Regions from separate parts of the Homo sapiens genome. Here all the other regions are linked to region 1. Evidence: promoter capture Hi-C in human tissues and cell types (Jung and others, 2019). All regions are on one chromosome and are shown on one strand. Each heading gives the region's core, a stretch centred on a gene start or on the middle of the fragment in contact. The rest is flanking DNA. Distances are from core to core; before and after follow the strand shown. Region 1 holds the start of MGAT3 (beta-1,4-mannosyl-glycoprotein 4-beta-N-acetylglucosaminyltransferase). Region 2 overlaps MIEF1 (mitochondrial elongation factor 1). Region 3 overlaps MGAT3 (beta-1,4-mannosyl-glycoprotein 4-beta-N-acetylglucosaminyltransferase). Region 4 overlaps TAB1 (TGF-beta activated kinase 1 (MAP3K7) binding protein 1).

What was found. The method cuts DNA at HindIII sites, captures the fragments that hold promoters and counts their contacts. A contact is called where the count stands out against the background at its distance.
Region 2: a fragment that was not itself captured here is called in contact with the fragment with the promoter of MGAT3 in region 1 in 5 of the 25 tissues and cell types used here (IMR-90 fibroblasts, bladder, dorsolateral prefrontal cortex and 2 more).
Region 3: a fragment that was not itself captured here is called in contact with the fragment with the promoter of MGAT3 in region 1 in 7 of the 25 tissues and cell types used here (H1 embryonic stem cells, IMR-90 fibroblasts, heart left ventricle and 4 more).
Region 4: a contact is called between a fragment that was not itself captured here and the fragment with the promoter of MGAT3 in region 1, in 5 of the 25 tissues and cell types used here (IMR-90 fibroblasts, mesenchymal stem cells, mesendoderm cells and 2 more).

What each region holds. Positions count from the first base shown.
Region 1 is chr22:39,455,760-39,458,265 of GRCh38, reverse strand. MGAT3 (beta-1,4-mannosyl-glycoprotein 4-beta-N-acetylglucosaminyltransferase) reads right to left here and starts at 1,254. Exons shown (of 2, transcript NM_002409.5): 1 at 709-1,254. RefSeq lists silencers at 129-258, 269-538, 1,269-1,328. The HindIII fragment of the contact is 12,980 bases long and covers 1-2,506 here.
Region 2 is chr22:39,508,394-39,510,899 of GRCh38, reverse strand. The region is part of intron 2 of MIEF1 (mitochondrial elongation factor 1); the gene reads right to left. Among named protein-coding and RNA genes, the nearest start is that of MIURF, 5.4 kb to the right of the region's middle. RefSeq lists an enhancer at 1-324. The HindIII fragment of the contact is 6,788 bases long and covers 1-2,506 here.
Region 3 is chr22:39,489,285-39,491,790 of GRCh38, reverse strand. It overlaps MGAT3 (beta-1,4-mannosyl-glycoprotein 4-beta-N-acetylglucosaminyltransferase), which reads right to left. Exons shown (of 2, transcript NM_002409.5): 2 at 1-2,506. Among named protein-coding and RNA genes, the nearest start is that of MIEF1, 12 kb to the left of the region's middle. RefSeq lists an enhancer at 1,313-1,607. The HindIII fragment of the contact is 7,379 bases long and covers 1-2,506 here.
Region 4 is chr22:39,419,224-39,421,729 of GRCh38, reverse strand. TAB1 (TGF-beta activated kinase 1 (MAP3K7) binding protein 1) reads right to left here. Exons shown (of 11, transcript NM_006116.3): 7 at 2,100-2,211. Among named protein-coding and RNA genes, the nearest start is that of TAB1, 21 kb to the right of the region's middle. The HindIII fragment of the contact is 5,458 bases long and covers 1-2,506 here.

The DNA.
Region 1 (2,506 bases), core at 5-2,504:
CCCACCATACACACACCCAGGCGCACTCCCCTCCCCACTCCCGGTTCCAGAACTCACTATTTGCAGATATTTATAGCGCCCTCCCTCAGCCAGGTTCCCTCCCCCGCCCTGGGCAGAGCAATGCAAGGAGCCGGGGGCCCCCACCCCGGTAAATGGCCGGGGGCCCTCTCCACATTTGCCTCTGCCTGGTCCCCAGGGGTAGCTACGGCCGCAGCCCCCGCACCCGCCCAGCCCCCGACTGCGCTTGGGCCTCGGCTGCCGCCGCCGCAGTCTGGGGTCGGGGGTGGGGAAGGCGGGCGCGGAGGCCTCCCACCCCAGCCCCGCGCCGCGCCGGAGGTTGTGGGGGAGCCGCGCCGGAGGCTGGGGGGTGCCGCGCACAAAGCACGGCTCGAGCCCCGCGCCTCGGGGACGTCCCCCGCCCGGCCGTGGGAGGGGGTCGGGCGCTGAGGCTCTGCCCTCCGGGGACCGGGGAGCTCGGAGGAGCGGCGGGTAGGGGGAGGGGGCCCGCGCCGAGCGGCTTCCCCGGCATCCCGCCCCCACCGCGGCCTCCGGGCCCCCAGCCCCAGTGCGCCCGCGCCCGCCCCCTAAGGTCACGCTCGGGGAGTGGGCCGCGGAGCCGGGCGGGGGGCGCCAAGCGCAGCGCGGGAGGGCGGGCAGCGCGGGGATAGAGGGGCCGCGGCGCCCCCCAGGACGCCGGGGTCAACTCACCCATCGCCCGCTGGGTCTCAGCAACGGCGGCAGCAGCGGCGGCGGCGGCTCCGCGGCCCCCGGGGTCCCCGGCGGGGAGATGCTGGCGTCCGCCGCAGCCTCTCGCCCCATCCCGGGCTCCGGCGGCAGCGGCTGCGGCGGGCGCCCGGCATCGCAGGCAGCGCGGCCCCGGCCCGGCCCCGATCCCCTCCCCCCACCCCCACTTCCACCCCGTCCCGGGGACCCGGCGCGGCCGCTCGGCTGCACCCCGGGGCGGCGGCGGGGGCCCGGCGAGCGGACGGGCGCGGGGGAGGGACCGCGGCGGGCGCGCGGGGGGCGCGGAGGCGAGGCCGAGCGCGGCGCGCAGGGGTGCCCGCTCCCGCCGGCTCAAGCGGCTCCGGCCCCCACCCCGCCCCCTCCGCAACCCCCTCCCCTCCCCCGCCAGCCGGGCTCCGCCGCCGCGCCGGGCCGGGGGCGCCTCGCACCGCAGACTCCGGCCGCCGCCGCCCCGCGCCGCCCGCGCGTGCTGGATCGAGTGTGTGCGTGTGCGAGCGAGTGTGTGTGAGTGCGAGTGTGCGCGCGCCCCTCCTGTGACCGTGCGTGCGCCGGCCCACGGCCCGGGGCGGCCTGCGCGGGGGCGTGTGCGGGGAATGCGGGTAGTTCGGAGTGCGGGCCTGGTGTGCGTGCGGGGCAGCAAGTCCCGTTCTGTGTATGCGTGGACGGGTGCGTTCCGCAGCGTGCCCGGGTCGGTGTGACTCCGTGTGCCCGAGTCTGTGCCTGTGTGTGCATGGACGTGCAGATCCGTGTTGCGGTGTGTGCGTGGATGCGCCTGTGCCCGCGTGAACCTGGGCCGGGATTTCGCATAGGCATCTGTGACCATGTGCAGAGGCCTGGGCCTGTGATGTGTGCACGGTGCCGGGCCTGTTACGGTGTCTGCAGAGTCTGTGTGTCTGCTTGGGGCGTGGGTGACCGCTGTACACCGGCCTGTGTCCTTCCGTCCGACCCCCTCCGTCCCTCACATGCCCGAAGCCACCTGCGCACTCCTGGGGTAACTGGGGGGGCCTCCCCTCCCCCGCCCCCCTCACCCGGCCACCCTAGGCCCGGTCGGCCCTGCCAACCCTCTTGAGCCTACTCTCCTGCCACTTGCCCACCAGCGGTTCTCCGAGGGCCCACCGTGTCGTGCCCTGGCTCCTCGTGGCCTTGCTCTAGGCCATTCCTCTCAGGGCTCAGAGGCGTCCCCCACGTGTTTCCCGCCTTTCAAGTGGTTCCGTTCTGGGGCCTACAGAGCAGCCACTTCCTCCCGCGGTGCGAGGCACAAGGCATTGTGGGTACGCAGCAGACATCTCTGCGCCGCCATCGTCGAAGGTGCAGGGATGCGCTACCTATTCTATATCCCAGCGAATGTGCTCCAGAATAGTCCCAGAGGCCTTTGCTGAACCATCCGGGCTGCCTAGGGCTGGTCTACCTGCTCCAGGTGCCTCCGTGCCCAGCTTCATCCATCCTTGCTGAGGAGGCAGAGTGATCCTACTCCAACATTCACTTGAGCAGGTCACTCTCCTGCCTGCACCTTCAATGGCTCCCACTTGCCCTCAGCTTAAGTTCAGTGCCTGGGCGGGGCACAGGGAGCCCCTGGTGACCTAGTCTTGCCCCCTTCTTCAACGTCACCCTCACTGCTCTTTTCTTCCTGGAGGCTCTCTCTAAGCAAGGGTGGGCAAACCATTTGCTTTAAGAGATTGATTGTAAATCTTTTAGGCTTTGCCAGCCATATGGTCTCTGTCCCAACTACTCAACTCTGCCATCGTAGCATAAAATCAACCAT
Region 2 (2,506 bases), core at 5-2,504, 53 kb before region 1:
TTCACAGGGGTTATAATGCAGGTCTCTACCCCTTCACAGGGGTTATAAAGCAGGTCTCTACCCCTTCACAGGGGTTATAATGCAGGTCTCTACCCCTTCACAGGGGTTATAATGCAGGTCTCTCTACCCCTTCACAGAGGTTATAAAGCAGGTCTCTCTACCCCATCACAGGGGTTATAATGCAGGTCATTTCTTCGTCCTTTGGCCACTACTTTGTGGAAGGTTAGATCTGAGCGGGACCTTGGAGCTCATCTAATGCCATCACATCACCTCACACAGAGGTTCTCAACATAGGGAGGTGATGTGTCAGGTCTCAGAGAAAAGAAATGGTACAGGCGCAGTGGCTCATGCCTATAATCCTAGCTACCCGGGAGGCTGAGGTGGGAAGATCGCTTGTGGCCAGAAGTTCAAGACCAACCTGAGCAACATGGCAAGACCCCCATCTCCAAAAGTAAAAGATAAAAATAAATTGAGCATGGTGGCACATGCCTGTAGTCCTATCTACTTAGGAGGCTGAGGCAGGAGGAATGCTTGAGCCCAGGAGTTTGAGGCTACAGTGAGCTATGATCACGCCACTGCACTCTAGCCTCAGTGACAGAGTGAGACCCCATCTCTTAAAAATAAAAATAAAAAAACAAAATGGGCCGGGCACGGTGACTCACGCCTGTAATCCCAGCACTTTGGGAGGCCGAGGCAGGCGGATCACCTGAGATCAGGAGTTCAAGACAAGCCTGGCCAACATGGAGAAACCCCGTCACTACTAAAAATATAAAATTAGCCAGATGTGACAGCGCATGCCTGTAATCCCAGCTTCTCAGGAGGCTGAGACAGGAGAATCCCTTGAACCCGGAAGGCGGAGGTTGCAGTGAGCCGAGATCACACGATTGCACTCTAGCCTGGGTAACAAGAGCTAAACTCCGTCTCAAAAACGAAAACAAAACGACACAGTCATCTCCAGAACTCAGGACTCCCCACTCCTTGTATGACGCTTTTTCTACTGTACCATGCTCACCCTTACCCAAATCAAATCGGCCCTTATTCTATCTACTTTCTGCAAACAAAACACAAAACAACATGTACCAAACATCCTGCACACGGAACTGAAACTACACGTCCATATGTGAGAAAGGTCCCTCCATGGACCCTCCTACTTGACAAATGCTTTGTTTCTTGAGAGAAGTGCGCAGCGGGGACTATAAAAGCTTAGGTGAGACTGGTATACCGGGAGATAAAAAACACAAAGGACACTGCAGACTCGACTGCTAACTGGAAAACAAAACACCCATCTGCTCGATTACACCTGGAAGAGGAACTAAAAATGTGTTCACCTGAAAGAAGTACTTGGGCACCACAGCGAAGAGGCTGGCCTCCAGTGCAGTGCTCAGGCCAGTGCTGCTCCCGACTACAGTGGAGTCTTCCTGACTGCAGCAGCAGCAGTCCCCAGATAAGCCCATTCCTGTGGAGTTAGAACCCTGGGCCTGAGCCGGATAAAGGATGACAGTGTGATTCAGATCGGAATACCACTCAGCATGCTGCCACTCTCCTCTATAATATCCCGTGTCCTTCACACCAGGAATGACATAAGGGAAAACAAAGTCGGATACCATTTAGCGTCCCAGAATGGGAGGACATCAAGAGACAGGATCAGCCGGGCGCGGTGGCTCACACCTGTAATCCCAGCACTTTGGGAGGCCAAGGTGGGTGGATCACGAGGTCGGAAGTTCAAGACCAGCCTGGCCAACATAGTGAAACCCCATCTCTACTAAAAATACAAAAAATTAGCCAGGCATGATGGTGCATGCCTGTAATCCCAGCTACTCGGGAGGCCAAGGCAGGAGAATCACCATTGCACTCCAGCCTGGGTGACAGAGCAAGACTCCGTCTTGAAGAAAAAAAAAAAAGGATCACTGAGGATTATCTTCCATGTAAAATAACATTCCTTCTAATACCGTGTTACAAGTGGATATTTCTAGCTTCCACATCTTACGCTCCTGCCTCTACCTCCCTGAAAAACAAAGAAATATTTCTGACTCTATTATTCCAGTAATTGAGTTAACTAAGAGTCACTGTCAAGCCCAAAAATATTTTTTTCCCTAACTAGAGTTCACACCTTGGGGGTACTTTCCTTTTCTCTACCATTTACAGTCAATAGAGGCTTCAGGTTTAGGGACATGAAAGACTATTTCGCCAAACCGAGTACATTCCCACCTCAAATGCACAGAGCAAAGCCAGGGAGAAGAGATAACGTTTGTATTTACAGGTGGAATCAGGGAAGAACAGCAGACACCCTCTCTCCAGTGGCCACTGAGATAGAGACGGGACAAACCAAACTTAGCAGAGGCAAGATAACCCAATCAGGAGAAAAGCAGAACACTATACATTTCCCCACACATAACAATGTCTCTTGTTTTAACTCTTTACTGAAATATTTACAATAGGGAGAGCCACTGGACACATGTGCCCTCTAAATGATCCTTGAGTGTGATGCAGCAGGGCCAGAAGGGCA
Region 3 (2,506 bases), core at 4-2,503, 34 kb before region 1:
GGTCACATTCAGCTTGGTTTCCCTTCATATTGAGGGAGTGGCCCTGGGTTCTTCTGCCCCCACCAAATTCCCAGTGTATGCTGTGATGATATGTGAAACTCTTCAATCCTGTGCCCTGGCCCCCAGCCCTCTGACAGCTGCCCTCTCCACCGATGGCCAGGCCTTCACTCCTGCTGCTGTGAACAGGACCTGCCCCACCAGGTCTGTGAGGAAGGCAGAGCCTGGCAGCTCTGAGCTGCTCCTATCTTCCTTCGCTTAGCCCTGAGCTGGTGCCCTGGAGGGGCATCCCATAGCAACTGAGGATGCCAGGGGCGTGGGGGTGGGAAAGCTGCCAAGGAGGGAGGCCCCAGGCCAGGGCCTGGGCATGATCAGGAGCCCTGAGACTCCCTGTCCATGGGGTGCAGCCTGGCCTAGATTGACCCAGAGCCATAGGGACCCCGAGTGTTTGAGCCACCTCTCAGCCCCAAGAGCAAACAGAAAGGAAGGCTGCTGTGACTTCAAAGGAGTTCCATGGGGGGCAGTCCCCTAGATGGGAGCAAAGTGGCTCAGAGCCCCTCAGCCCACTTCACGCTTGCCCACCAGCGGCTCCTCTGAGGCCAGCTCCCCACACCATGCCCTCACTGGGCACTTAACCCAGACAGTGCTGTCGCAAGAAGATGCCCTCCTCTCCTGGCCCATCAGGAAACCCCCAACCATAAGACATCTGGAGAAAGCCCCACTGGAGGTGGGGGGGAGGGGACAGGTGGGATGATGCGGCTGGGGCCGAGAGGGGCTGGGGAGGTAGTGGGCTCTCAGCTGCACAGCCCTCAGGTCAGGATTCTCATTCCTCAGACTGAAAGACAGACAGACAGACAGACCCTGCATCCCCTTTAGCTTTGCTTTCTAGGCTCCCCAAGGGCTTTCTGCCTCAGTCATTTTGGGGAGCTGCAGGAGGTGTGGCCACAGGCCCGAGGAAGAGGCCAGGCCTGGGCCTGGCCTCTTCCATCCATACACAAGCATGTATTTACAGGGACACAGCAATACAGACATGTACAAATACACACCAAGCATGCACCCATGCCCATAAATATACACACACACACGCACAAACATGAGCCATTCCACAGGCCAACTCTGCAAACCGGCATCATTGGGTAGCGTCTGAGGGGCCGAGGGGAGGGGGTGTTTCCCCTTCCCACAGAGCTGCAAGCTCCTCACTGCCCCCAGCCCTGGGCTGCACAGTGAGGGAAACAGGAGCAAGCTGTTCCGGAAACTCTGACAATGAGAGCTGGATCCGACGACTGAGTTATTGCTGCTCCCTCCCCCTCTCCCAGAGATGCTACTGGTCCCCCATATCCATTCTCTTCTCCTCCATCAATAAGATAACTCCCAAGGTGAGGCCAGGCACATGGCGGCCCCGCTGAAGACTACACTTCCCAGGTTCCCTAGCAGCTGCTTGTGGCCATGTGACTGAGTCCCAGCCAATGAGAGGCCAGCAGAGGTGAGCCTGCCAATTCTGGCTCATGCCTTTAGCAAAAAGTGGGTGTGCCCTCTTGTCTATTTCTGCTTCCCCCAGGCTTGGATGCACACAGGAGGGTGGGCGCTGGAGCAGCCGCTGTGTACCCAGAATTGGAAGGTGCGTATGAAGAAACGCAGAGCTGCCCTACCAGCTCTGGGCCATCTCAATCTAGACTAATTAGAAACAAGCTTCCATCTTGCTTAAACCACTGTATTTCAGGGTCTCCTAATCACAGCAGCTCAGAATCAACTCCAACAAAGACATCCCCACCAAGGCAAGCTATGAGGAACAGGAAGCATACAACTGGCCTTATTGTCCCTTTTTGGGCCCAAGACAGCCTCATGGCCCCTTTCTGGCCCCCAGCCAGCCTGCCCCAAGGAAGGGCACAACAGTGACTGCACCTGGGACAGTGGACAGCTGGGACTGGGTGTCAGAAGGAAGGGGTGATGGGGAGGGAGAGACGGATCCGTGCAGAGGACTCATGTCAGTCTTCTCCTCCCCACTTCCCCCTCAAGGCCACACCTACAACTGGACTCTTGGCCTTGCAAGGACTGAGTGCACAGTCCACAAGACAGCAATGTGAAAGGGAGAAGGAACGTCAACGCCGGGTTTAGAACCAAAAGGAAAGCTCCTCAGGGTTCTCCAGGCCCCTGTGTTGGCTCACGACAGCCTGAGGGGTGCACAGAGACAGACTCAGGCACCAGCATCCCAGGGCAGCCAGGTCCTGTCCTTTGCGGCAGGGGGTGGAGTTCTGTCTCCATCTGGCCCAGCACTTCTGACTACACTGCAAAGCATCCCTCAGCACCTCCTCTTGGTAGGATGTGGCTTTTTCATCTCTTCCCTACGAGGTGTCCACGCTTCCTCCTGGACCCAAATGCATCTACTTACAGAGCCCTGGGTCCTCCTGGCAGGCCGGTCTCCCACACGGAGCCCAAGGCCCAGGGATGCCAAATGGTGGGCTTTTTCCCGGCCTGGCCACCCCCCAGAGGCTGCCTGGTGAGATCCTGC
Region 4 (2,506 bases), core at 2-2,501, 37 kb after region 1:
TAAAACACACAACCTGACAAGAGGAAAAGAAAAGAGAGAAAGAGAAGGTCAGAAAAATAGACCCATCGTCTTACAGCAGCTGCTAAAATAAAGCTTGGAAGGCCATAAAAACTGGCAGGCAGCTGAGGTCAGGATGGCAAAGGTTGAATGCCCGATTCTGGCCTGTTCCATACGTCCTGTTCACAGGGTCCGGTGGTGGCAGGGCAGGGTGTGGGACAGCAAGAGGGAGGGATTATCCCTGGGAGCCCAAGCCTCTTGCTATTATTTGGGCTTTTCCAAAACAGATGGCTGAGACCCCAGATACTCTCCATGTGTACAGGGATCCTTTAGTGACTGGGGTCAGAGTCATTACATGCCAACACATGTGTGTGCACATGGAGGTAAGTACATGAGGAGGTGCTGGCAACACCATCCAGAAGAGCGGAGTCTAAGAACTTCCTGAGGGTCCGTCAGCCAGGGCTGGGCCCTGGGAGCGGTTATTACACAGAATGACGCCATCCTAACTGCAGGTGAGCAGAATGAAGAGATGAGCACCTTTAATGATAGCAGTGAGGGGTGTGTAAACATATCTCCAAACTCATCAAGTTGTATGCATGAAATAGGCACAGCTTTGCATATGCCAATTACACCTTAGGGTTTAAAAAAAAAGAAAAGAAGGAGGAGCAGGACACACCAGCACCTGGGAGGGGCAGGACACACCAGCACCTGGGAGGGGCAGGACACACCAGCACCTGGGAGGGGCAGGACACACCAGCACCTGGGTGTTCCGAAAAGGATGCAGGCTCCTTGGCCCCCAGGACAAACACACACACACACACACACACACACACACACACACACACACACAGAGAGAGACACCCCAGCACCTGGGTGTTCCGAAAAGGATGCAGGCTCCTTGGCCCCCAGGACAAACACACACACACACACACACACACACACACACACACACACACAGAGACACCGTGTGTGTATATGTGCATGTGGCCAGATTTTGGAACAGGATACACAAGAAACTAGCAGCCTCTGGGGAGGCAGCGAGTCCTAGAGTGTGGTGTAGGAAGACTTCCTTTCCCTGTATAGACCCCAGCACTGTCTGAAGTGTTTTAAACTATGGATGTCCTTTCCAATAAAGGAAACAGGACCCCACAAATTAGGGACAAATATTCGACACTCAGTTGCCTAGATCGCGTGAGGGCAAGGAGTTCTAACATGCACTTTCTAGGCCATGAGGCCTCTGTTGATGGGAACTCTGGCTTTGGGAACAGCCTTGGCCATGACATTAAATGCCATGATTGGCATCAGGCAAGTGGACGCGCCTATCTCCCCAACCAACACTTCACATACAGGTTACCTGACGGTTAAGGACACATATTCCAAATTCAGGCTGCCTGTGTTCAAGCCCCATGACCAGGGTGGGCTGCCTGATGTCTCCATGCCTCAGTTTCCTCTTATGAAAATGCCTCTGGGGTGATGGCAGTGACTGCCTCAGGGGGCCTGAGTAGGGAATGCATAAAAGAAGGTACATCCAGAGCTCTGCACGGGCTTGGCCGTGTGATGATGACTGCCCATTCTGCTGCCATGAGCGCTGGGGTGATGTCCAGAGGAGGTGTCCTCAGAGGGAAATACACAATTCATCTCACACCTCTGCTGCAGCCATGGGCAGCACCGACCAACAGGCCTGGTCTGTCCATCCCATGCCAACTCTGGCTTCGCCTGCCTCCCTTGTGGCACTAGTTGCTGCCCTCAGCTTTGGCCCAGCTCAACTCCACCCCTTGTTTCTACAGTACCCAACTCCTGGCCTGCTGGGCCTAACCTGCCCCAAACCAACCTCTCTGGGAGGAAGAAAGAGTTTGCCTGGGCTCTGAACTACTTTGACTGCACATGTGTCACTGGGGCCTACAGTCTGCGTCTGCCCCAGGCCTTCTGGACCTTTTTTTTTTTTTGAGACAGGGTCTTGCTCTGTTGCCCAGGCTGGAGTGCAGTGGCATGATCACGGCTCACTGCAGCCTCGACCTCCCAGCACAATCAATCCTCCCATCTTGGCCTCCCTAGGACCTTCTGTTCTTTCAAGCACAGGGGACAGCTGGGCTGGCACCTACCTGAGAAGGTCAATGTCCGTGTAGCCATATTTAACCTTGTAATCCCCGATCCGCCGGGTGCTCTCCTGCCCACAGATGATCCCCACCTGCTTGATCTTTCCAGCATCCAAGCCTACGGAGGGAAACAGTGCAACAATCCTGCTTCTTGTTCACAAAGAGGAACAAAAAGAAGGGGACAGAGACACAGTCATGGGAAGAAGGCAATAAGGACCCACTGAATAGGAAATGAAGACAACACCAGGGCACCTGGGAGAGCAGCTGACCCAAAGTCCCTGGTGTCCTCAGTCCCCACGCCCATCACGACACACCTCACTCAGAGCCCGTCCTCCAGGCACCACCTGGCACGGAGCAGCTTGCCTGCCGTCTCCCTGCCCATCCCGTGTGCCCCACATCTGCCTGGAGCTCAC